Linked DNA regions of Homo sapiens: region 2 is linked to region 1. The links are contacts of gene promoters, found by promoter capture Hi-C in blood cells and fetal thymus (Javierre and others, 2016). All regions are on one chromosome and are shown on one strand. Each heading gives the region's core, a stretch centred on a gene start or on the middle of the fragment in contact. The rest is flanking DNA. Distances are from core to core; before and after follow the strand shown.

Region 1 (4,560 bases), core at 642-3,141:
TAATAATTCTCTGTTAGAGCATCCAGAGTATAACATATGCTAGAGAAATTGGCATAAACACAAATCCCTTCTCCCTCATTACGTCCCACACTCACCTTATAGTTGTTCCAGTACAGTGTATCTTGGGTGATTTTTTCACCAAGTATAGGATATGTCTGAATAGCTACAGGCTTATAACCAGCCATAATTCCATATAATTGCACTATTGTCCAAGAGTCACTATTTTGGAATTGGTATTAGAAATAATTACAGTGACTCTGCCTTAATTCTGAAAAATAAAATATTTTATATACATATTATAAGCTTGTACACATAGTTGATTTTCACTCTGCTTTCTTTAAAAAGTCTGTGTGGAAGTATATAGATTAGAGACCAATAAGCCATTTAATTCTAACCCAGAAAAGGCAATCTATAGGAAGCAGGAATAATTAAAGTGAAGGCTATCATATCGCACCATCTATTCAGCTGTACACAAAGGTTCTCACACCTAGCCAACCATTTTACAACACTTAGGAATAAATCTAGCACAGCCTTACAGTAGCCAAACCAAAAAGGATCATGCTGGCTTTGAGTGTCCATTTTTTGGCAACAGGAAATATTAAGGTGAAACTGCAAATACAAGTTTCCTGAAACCAAGTTTAAGATGACATTTAATCTATAACAATTATAGTTACGGATTTGATTTCCTGAAAGCCTAAAAATGCCAAGAAGTAAGAAACACAAAGCTAATATTCTAATGTAGAAGCTTAAAATTAAATTTACTTTAAAAGGTTTAAACAGTAGGAAAGAAAACTGTAATAAAGCAGTCCTGAAATTAAATTCAACACTAAAGTGGCAGAATAGGATAAAACTTTTAAATAACATGCAATCAAGCCAAAACATTTTTCCAGAACGACTCAATTGCAAAAGAGATTCAATGTTATCAGGTAAATGATTCCAGAGGTGCTGCTCATCATCTATTCCAAAAAGCCTGAAAACTTTACATTAGTAACACCACGATAAATAGGTGTAACATATATTTAAAAGGTGCTTTAATGAAATACAATGACCAATGATTGTATTTCACTGGTCTTTGGGAACACTCTTCTGTTCATTAAAGTACCTACCAATGTGCAGGACACTGCTCTAGGCACTGGGGCTATAATGGTGAATGAAATAAAGACATGGTCTGTGCCTTTGCTTACTCCAATATACTCCATTTTGGCTGGTGACTGGCACCAGATATTAACCTAGACTCAGCCTTGACGTGTCCTTTTCTTCCTCACTCCTAACATCCAAATAGTTAACAAGATCTGCTGATTTTATCTCCCAAATATTTTAAAACTCCATTAGGTTCACTTCACCTGAGGGAGCCTCGTAAGCAAAGGCAAAGATGGAAATGTGTCCATTGCCTTGGAGAGTTGCTGATTACTCCGGGAACTAACAACGGTGGACAGGAAAGGGTGTAATCGCAGAGAAGAACCTAGGTCGAAGCTTAATTGAGGGGAACTTGAGCCGGTTAAAGAATTTGGCCACTCTCCTATATAGCCTGGGAAGCCCCAGAAGAGCATGCCAGATTAACACAGGAAGGCCGGGTGTGAGTGTGGGCTTCCCTCAATGGGAGCCGCCTTCACCTACCTCCACTGAGCCCCAAAGGGTCCGACGAGACACCTCGACCCAAGGACAATTAATCGGACTGTGCCAGCTCCCTACCCTGCACAGTTCAGCAGCACTGGCGTAAAAATCACATGGACCCTCAAGGAGCCGGCGACACACACAGCGAACCGAACGTCGCGCGAAGATGACGTACCAGAGCACGCTCATGAGACTCACGCAGCCCGGCGGCGCAGAGGCGGGTCAGGTGGGCGGGGCGATCTGGAGTAGGAGGTGTGACCGGAGGGCGAAATTGGGGCTTCCTCTGCTCTGGTGACCCAGAACCGTCAACTGAAATGACCCTGTCTGTGTAGTACTCCGGCAGGATGGGCCTCGGAGCGTAAAGGCGGCAAAAACAAAAATATTAAAAAAAAGGAGAGAGGGACAAAAAAAAGAAAACCCGAAAGTTTCAGCTGCATTGCTGCGGAACGTTTTTTAGCCAGAAGGCGAAAGAAGAAATCGGAAGTGACGTCGCGGCCAAAACAAGCCCGGGCTTGGAGGCCTGTACTGAAGCTGGCCTCAGATGGGAAGGCCCGACTCGCTGTCTGCTGTCGTCGGTGGTCGCGAGACCTTGCACTCTCACCGGGTCGGCCTCCAGCCCCTGTGCCCGGGATCCGCTCGCCGCGGATGAGCGAGAGTTTCTTCCTGGGACTTTTCGGGCACAGCTGGCCGGTGGCGACAGAACGGACTTTCTTTCCTGCAAGAGTCTCCCCTCCAGCGGGAGACAGCGGGCTCCTGTCTCGGGACGCTGGGACACCTGTCGCCTGTGAGGCATCATTTATTTTCATAGCACCTTCCTCTCCTTGTAGAATAATTCCAGGATCAGGAAGAAACGAGGGGCTCCTGTTATTAGCATCCACAGGAACTAGCATAGCTGCCCACTTTATCTCCGTAGACTCTCTATCCCTTCATCCCTGGGCTCTGACAGATCGAGGTGAACCTAGCTATCGATTGCCTTACCCCCTTTTTCTCACCACCACCTCTTCTAAGTCCTGTTACCCCACTCCCCTCACCCCCGCCTCCCTCTCCTGTTCTTCAAAATTTTGGCCTACCAATCAACTTTGCTTCTCCTCTCGTTAAACTGCTGTGCCAAGATAAGCGTTCATTTTCCACCCACCCCCTTCGCCTAAGCACATTTGCTATTCTCCTCTCGAAGACCTGTAATTCCATCTATAAACCCTGATTTGTAACATGGAAGCTGTTTAGAGCTGGAAAGAATATTAGAAAGGCCTATTTCAACACCTTTTTATAATAGATGAATTTCAGAAAACTTGTATTATTTATTTGTCCAGGAGTGGCCAGCTAGTTAGTAGCGATGTTGGGAGTGGAAAGCCAGGTCTAATCAGCAAATGTTAGAAATAGAAAAGAATATGGAAAAAATTGTTAAAGTTAAGATCAGAAAACATTTATGGAGCACCTGGTAGGACCAAGTACTGTTCTGTGTGCAAAAATTAGTAAGAGTGGTCCCCATCCTAGGGGAGTTTTCAATTTAGCTGTTATTTAAATGGAAATTGTCAAAAGGATGGTGAATGCTAAAATACAGATACATGCAGGGTGCTCAGAGAGCTTAGGGGAGTTGCACTTAGCCAACCGCTGGATAGGAGAAAGGGGGAGATGGTTCTTCCCTCAGGAAACACAGTTCACATTGTCCAGTCCCTTTTAAGACGCATGGACTAATGCATTGCACATCCATCTCCCTTTGAATCACTGAACTAATTTTCTTTTCTGGTTTCCTTCTTTTTGCCCAAATGTATTAACCTTCTTACTTCCTGCTTTTTTTTTTTTTCCTTACTATACTATGTGTTATTTATTCAACTCTCTCGTGGAGATTTTGGCTTTGTTTAGGGCTGCCTCATTTTAATGGTCAGAGTGATGGAGTCAGAAGAGCTGAGTAAGCCCTCATAATTCATGAGCTTCCTTTTTTACCCCTCCTAGGTGGACATATGATTACCTGACCTGCCTACTCAAAGGATTGTTATAAAGACTAATCTTTGAAAATGTTTTTAAAATTGTAGAAGGTGGTTATCTGTAAATGTATGGTTTCGCGACCCTTGCTCCACTGCGATCCTAATGCATTTTTCTTTTAATTCCAATTCCAATTTTGAAACACCCTGCACCCTCTCAAAATTCCTAAGAGGCAATTAACCCTAACATGAAAAAATTAACTGGATGTTATTAATTTCCTTTCTGTCCCAAATGATAATGTATCTAAGACAACTATACATCTTGGAAAGCCAATCCATAATCTACCTACTTTATTTTTCATGAAAACCTACATTAAGTTGCTAATGCTTAATCGGAACAAAAATTCATAAATGTACCTTCAGTTCATCAAAACCAAAGCTTTGTAAAGCCTTTCATGGTCTAGGAATCACAGGTGTTATAGATGACAATGCCAATAAACTTGGATACAACATGAATTATCATTTCTTAAATTCAAACTAAGGGCCACCTATATAAACATAGCATATTAAAGAACTAACCTTAGGTAAGAGATTAAAGTTTATTTTCATTGTTAGCCTGATCTTTTATCCATTTGGTGATATTCAGATATAGGAAATGGGAGAAACAGTAACTAAAATGTATTGGAATTTAATGATGGAGGTGAGAATATCACTGTACAGTATTTCATTTGGTCTTTACCAGAACCCTATAAGGTTAATGGTGATATCCCTATTTTATAAATGACACGGAAGCTCAGAGGGATTGAGTAACTTCTACAGGTCACACAGCTAATTAATGGCAAAGTTTGGATTCATACCCAGGTTTCTCTACCTCTGAACATTATATTCTTTCTATTATGTGTAGGTGCTTTCAAGAGCATTGTTACAATACTTGATTGAAAATGATTATTTTGTGTGTTTTTACCTAAGCTGATAGAATACTTTTAATTTTCTAATTTTTTCTTTCAGATTTTTAAATATCCAG
Region 2 (4,560 bases), core at 1,356-3,855, about 11 Mb after region 1:
TTTTGTATCCTTGACCTATATCTCCCCATTTCCTCTCCTTCCCCACCACCAGTAGTAACCACTGTTTCGTTCTGTGTATTTTAGCTCCTTAAAAAAATATTCTACATATGAGTGAGATTATGCAATATTTTCCTTGGTGTCTGGCTTATCTCATTTAACATAACGTCCTTCAGGTCCATCTATGTTGTGGTAAACAGTAGGATCTCCTTTTTTAAGGCTGAATAATGTTCCATTGTACATTGTCTATACACACACATAAACGTATACACACACACATAATTTCTTTAGCCATTCCTCACCCATCGATGGACATTTAGGTTGCTTCCCTATCTTGGCTACTGTGAATAATGCTGCAATGAACGCGAGAGTGCAGATATCTTCACAAGGTGGTGATTTCCTCTCCCTTGGGTGTATACCAGGGACAGGTGTTGCTGTGCACCCAGAATCTTCAAAATAATATGTAAATCCTACTTTTGCTGGTATACTGTGAACTCGTATTTACCTAAAAAAATGACATTAACAGCACTCTTTCAAGAAAGTAATCTGAAGAGAAAATATAAAAGAAACCTCAACCCAAGTAAAGAAGGTATCTCTTTCCCATTAGTGTTATTGGTAATTTCTAAAGCTCTAAGCGGTATAATTTATCTTTTCATATACAGGATAACGATGGTTTCAGTTGTTACCACAAATTACTTCAAATATAACGGAGGAAAAAATCATTAGCTATATAGGGTCTTCCAATATATCATACACACAACATGAAAATCAATCTAGCTTCACGTAACTTGGTCAAACCTGGCAGAATCCAAGGGGCACGTGGACGTGACAGCCAAGTTACTACTGACTAGGCTAGGCTAAAGGTTAATAAATAAGGCACTCATAAAAGGAATCGAGGCCAGGCGCGATGGCTCACGCCTGTAATCCCAGCACATTGGGAGGCCGAGGCAGGTGGATCACTTGAGGTCAGGAGTTCGAGACCAGCCTTGTCAACATGGTGAAACCCCGTCTCTACTAAAAATACAAAAAATTAGCTGGGTGTGGTGACAACGCCTGTAATCCCAGCTACTCAGGAGGCTGAGGCACAAGAATAGCTTCAACACGGGAGGCGGAGGTTGCAGTGGGCCGAGATCGCACCACTGCACTCCAGCCTGGGTGAAAATCCGTCTCAAAAAAAAAAAAAAAGGAATCGGTATGAGAGATGGAGTCAGGAACACTGCTCAACTCGAGATTATCACACATCTCTCGTTCTTTCAATATTGGTACCGAAAGAAAATAATTTTACTTATCTCCCTCCGTGCATTTATTCCTTTACAATATGAATTATTTCCAGTCTGGCTGGCGTATCTCACTCCACACCCCAAGCTAGTGTCATAAACCATTTTCCCCAAGAGAAACCTAGAGAAAGATACATAAGCCTAAGGCTCTTAAAAAAAAAAATGAAGCATGTGTCTTCACCTCGCCTTACACTTTTCTCAGTTACCTCTCCCGAGGGTGTGAAAATATCAACATCCGGTCGCCCACCCCCACTCTCTCAGCAGTGCCTCGCATTGACTCTGCCCATCCCCTATCATTCCCTTTACAGTCTCATCACCTTGGAGAAGCCCATCGAATATTTCTTCCCATTGCTCCCCCACCCTTATTCATGGCTCAGCGCGATATTCTCCACATTTTTCTCCCAAGAAGTGGCAAAAAAGAAAGCAGCATGGTCGACGACGAAACCGGGGAGGCCTGACAACCAGACGGCAGTTTAAGGCGACGGAACTGGCTCTTTCCCCCCATCTCGGCCTCCGACCAGCAGTCGGTTCTCTAAATGTGAAATCGCTGGTCTTCCCGCTCCCCCACCCCCATCCCCATCCCCGTCAGAGGCCAAGCCGGTAAAATGCAAAGACCAAGGGGAAGCGCGAGGCAGGGTCATCCCTAACGAAGCCCGCTCCCTCCCGGGCTGGTGTCCCCGGGGGGGGGCTGGAGATTGCGGGAGGAGGAGCGAGCGGCCCTCGCCCAGAGACCCCCGGAGACGCGACCCTCGACACCCGGGCCCTTTCCCCACCCGGCTTCCCTCCCCCGCGGCCCGATCCGGAGAACTGCAGCAGCGCCCGGGCGGACCCCAAGCCGGCCTCACTGGCACACACGCCACACACAAAAGCGCCGCGGCCGCCGCCTTCCCACCCCCACAGCCCGGCGAAGCAATCAATGAGGCGGCCGGCGCCCGCGTCCCCTCCGTGCACACCCGAACACGGGGCCGAGCGGGCCAGCGGGGCTGGCAGCGCGGCTCACCATCGCTGCGCTTGATCTCCACGTAAATCCCGATCTGGATCTTGCCGAAGTTGGCCGTTGCCATCACCTCATCTGGAGCAGCAGCAGCGGGCCGAGGGAGGGGGACCGGAGGGCGGAAAAGGCGGGGAGGGGGCGGGGTAGGTGTGGGAGGGGGAGCGGTTGCCCGCGGCCGCGCCGGCCCGGGCGACAGCGTGAACGCAAGCGGGGCCGCAAGGAGCAGCTGTGGGGAAGCAGGCGGAGGCCCCGGGCCTGCAGGCCGGCAGGAGGACGCGCACGCCGGGTAGTCGGGGTGAAGCTAGGGCCGGGGCCGTGAGACGGCGCGGGGTAGAGTGGGAGGGCCCGCACCGCCCGCCGGGGAGCCGACGCTGGGGAGGCGGGGCGCCGCGCGCCTGCGCAGAGCGCGCCTCCGGCGTCTCTTCTTCCTTTTCGGCTGGCCTCTCCCCGCTGCCTCCAGGCGGCCCCGCCCAGCTCTGCAGCGGGGTGGGCGGCGGCCGCGGCTTACCCAGCCGCTGGAGCGTTGAGCGCTCGGCCCGGCCCACAGCTAGCCGGCGTCGCGTTTGATTTCAGCGCGCGGCCTAGAAGACGCGGGAAGCGTCGCGCCGAGCTTTCTTGCCCTCTCGCTTCCGGGAATTGGCGCTGTTGCCGGAATGGGTTAAAGGCCACGTGGTTTCAGGGGCTTTCTAGCGGGCTGAGGGATGTGAATTCAAGGGCCCTCCGTTGACAGTACGGGATCCGGGTTTTCATCGGAAGGTGGCACCCCCTATTTCCACTTACAGGTAGCTGACCCAAGCAGCCCTCCCAAGCACACTTGGTGTAGGTTTCCCATCCAGTTACGCTGGAAGGGAAGAAACACCCTTGAGGTGTCACCTACCCTAAATCGAAATGAAGATCCACCCCTTTACAGTCTTGCCTTATAGTTTATCACACTCAGAAAGAAGCTCTGTGGTGGGGCGTCCTTAACTGTTCAGGTTATGAGGCATCCGATGCTGGTGCCCTGTTTCTGCTGAGGGTTCAAGACTTACTTGCCTTGGCCTGTAAAGCCAACAACTGTGACTCAAGGGAAGAAGGCAGACACATAAGGTTGACTAGGGAATGTGTCTTTTTGCAATAATTTAATTAGTCTGACCACATCAGCAATGTGGAAAGCAAGACTCTCCATCCTGGCAGAGCAGGAAGGCCACGTGTACCGGGGCCCTGGAAACTGTATTTATAGCACCGTGTGAAAACCTCCAAACGTCTAACTCCTGCTTGTAGTACTGGCAATTGATAGGTTGGAAACAACACTTTTCATGGCCTACTTTCCCTAGTCATTGTTTTTTGTTGTTGTTGTTTTGTTTTGTTTGTTTTTGAGGGGGAGTCTTGCTCTGTCGCTCAGGCTGGAGTGCAGTGGCGCGATCTCCGCTCACTGCAATCTCTGCCTCCTGTGTTCAAGCGATTCTCACGCCTCAGCCTTCCGAGTAGGTGGGATTACAGGCCCGCGCCACCACGCCTGGCTAATTTTTGTATTTTTAGTAGAGACGGGGTTTCACCATGTTGGCCAGGCTGGTCTCAAACTCCTGACCTCAGGTAATCCACCCGCCTCCACCACCCAGAGTGCTGAGATTACAGGCATGAGCCACTGCGCCCGGCCTTCCCTAGTCATTGATAATCTCCCTGTAACAATAACTACAAATATACAATTTAAAATTTTAAAATTGGAAACTGGATATATACATCAATGCTTATGTGGATATATGTGTGCCTAGAGTTTTCTATCTAATGTAAGTAATCATGTAGGTCCTTAAAAAACTGTTAAAAGACTGGCTTCATCTGTAGCTTGAACATATTGAAGGTATACCTGTCAAAAGAACAATTCTATTGAATCCATTCTAAAGTGCATATAATTTCTATGGAAAAAAAACCACACTGGATAGACAATGTGGAAAATAACTTCTTTTACATTCCAGAAATGACACACTTGAGTACCCCGGTTTCAAGTGAAATTTGACCAAATCAGGGTTTAGTTTTTATTTTTTCTATAATTTTGGGAGTTTTATCTGAACTCTTCAAGCTCCTGTCTAGAATTCATTTTCTGATGTCTCTGCAACTGAGGTATAAAACATCTATTTATATTTTATTTATACTTTATAAAGAATGCAAAGAAATCAAGCTATACAGCTCAAAGTTAACATTGTTTCATAAAATATTATTATTATTATTATTAGAGACGAAGTCTAACTCTGTCGTGCCTAGGCTAGAGTGCAGTGGCATGATCTCAGCTCACTGCCACCTCCACCTCCCAGGTTC

Evidence for each region. The method cuts DNA at HindIII sites, captures the fragments that hold promoters and counts their contacts. A CHiCAGO score of 5 or more calls a contact.
Region 2: the fragment with the promoter of KIF2A here is called in contact with the fragment with the promoter of ANKRA2 in region 1 in 1 of 17 cell types (total CD4 T cells); the score reaches 6.8 in total CD4 T cells.

The regions. Positions count from the first base shown.
Region 1 is chr5:73,562,970-73,567,529 of GRCh38, reverse strand. It overlaps ANKRA2 (ankyrin repeat family A member 2), which reads left to right and starts at 1,891. Exons shown (of 9, transcript NM_023039.5): 1 at 1,891-2,398; 2 at 4,545-4,560. UTP15 (UTP15 small subunit processome component) reads right to left here and starts at 1,787. Exons shown (of 13, transcript NM_032175.4): 1 at 1,618-1,787; 2 at 96-268. The coding sequence starts at 185. RefSeq lists enhancers at 1,522-2,076, 1,648-2,207, 2,218-2,427, 2,448-2,497, 2,077-2,631. The HindIII fragment of the contact is 2,502 bases long and covers 1,476-3,977 here.
Region 2 is chr5:62,304,251-62,308,810 of GRCh38, reverse strand. KIF2A (kinesin family member 2A) reads right to left here and starts at 2,605. Exons shown (of 21, transcript NM_001098511.3): 1 at 2,275-2,605. The coding sequence starts at 2,338. RefSeq lists a silencer at 1,872-2,901. The HindIII fragment of the contact is 9,341 bases long and covers 1-4,560 here.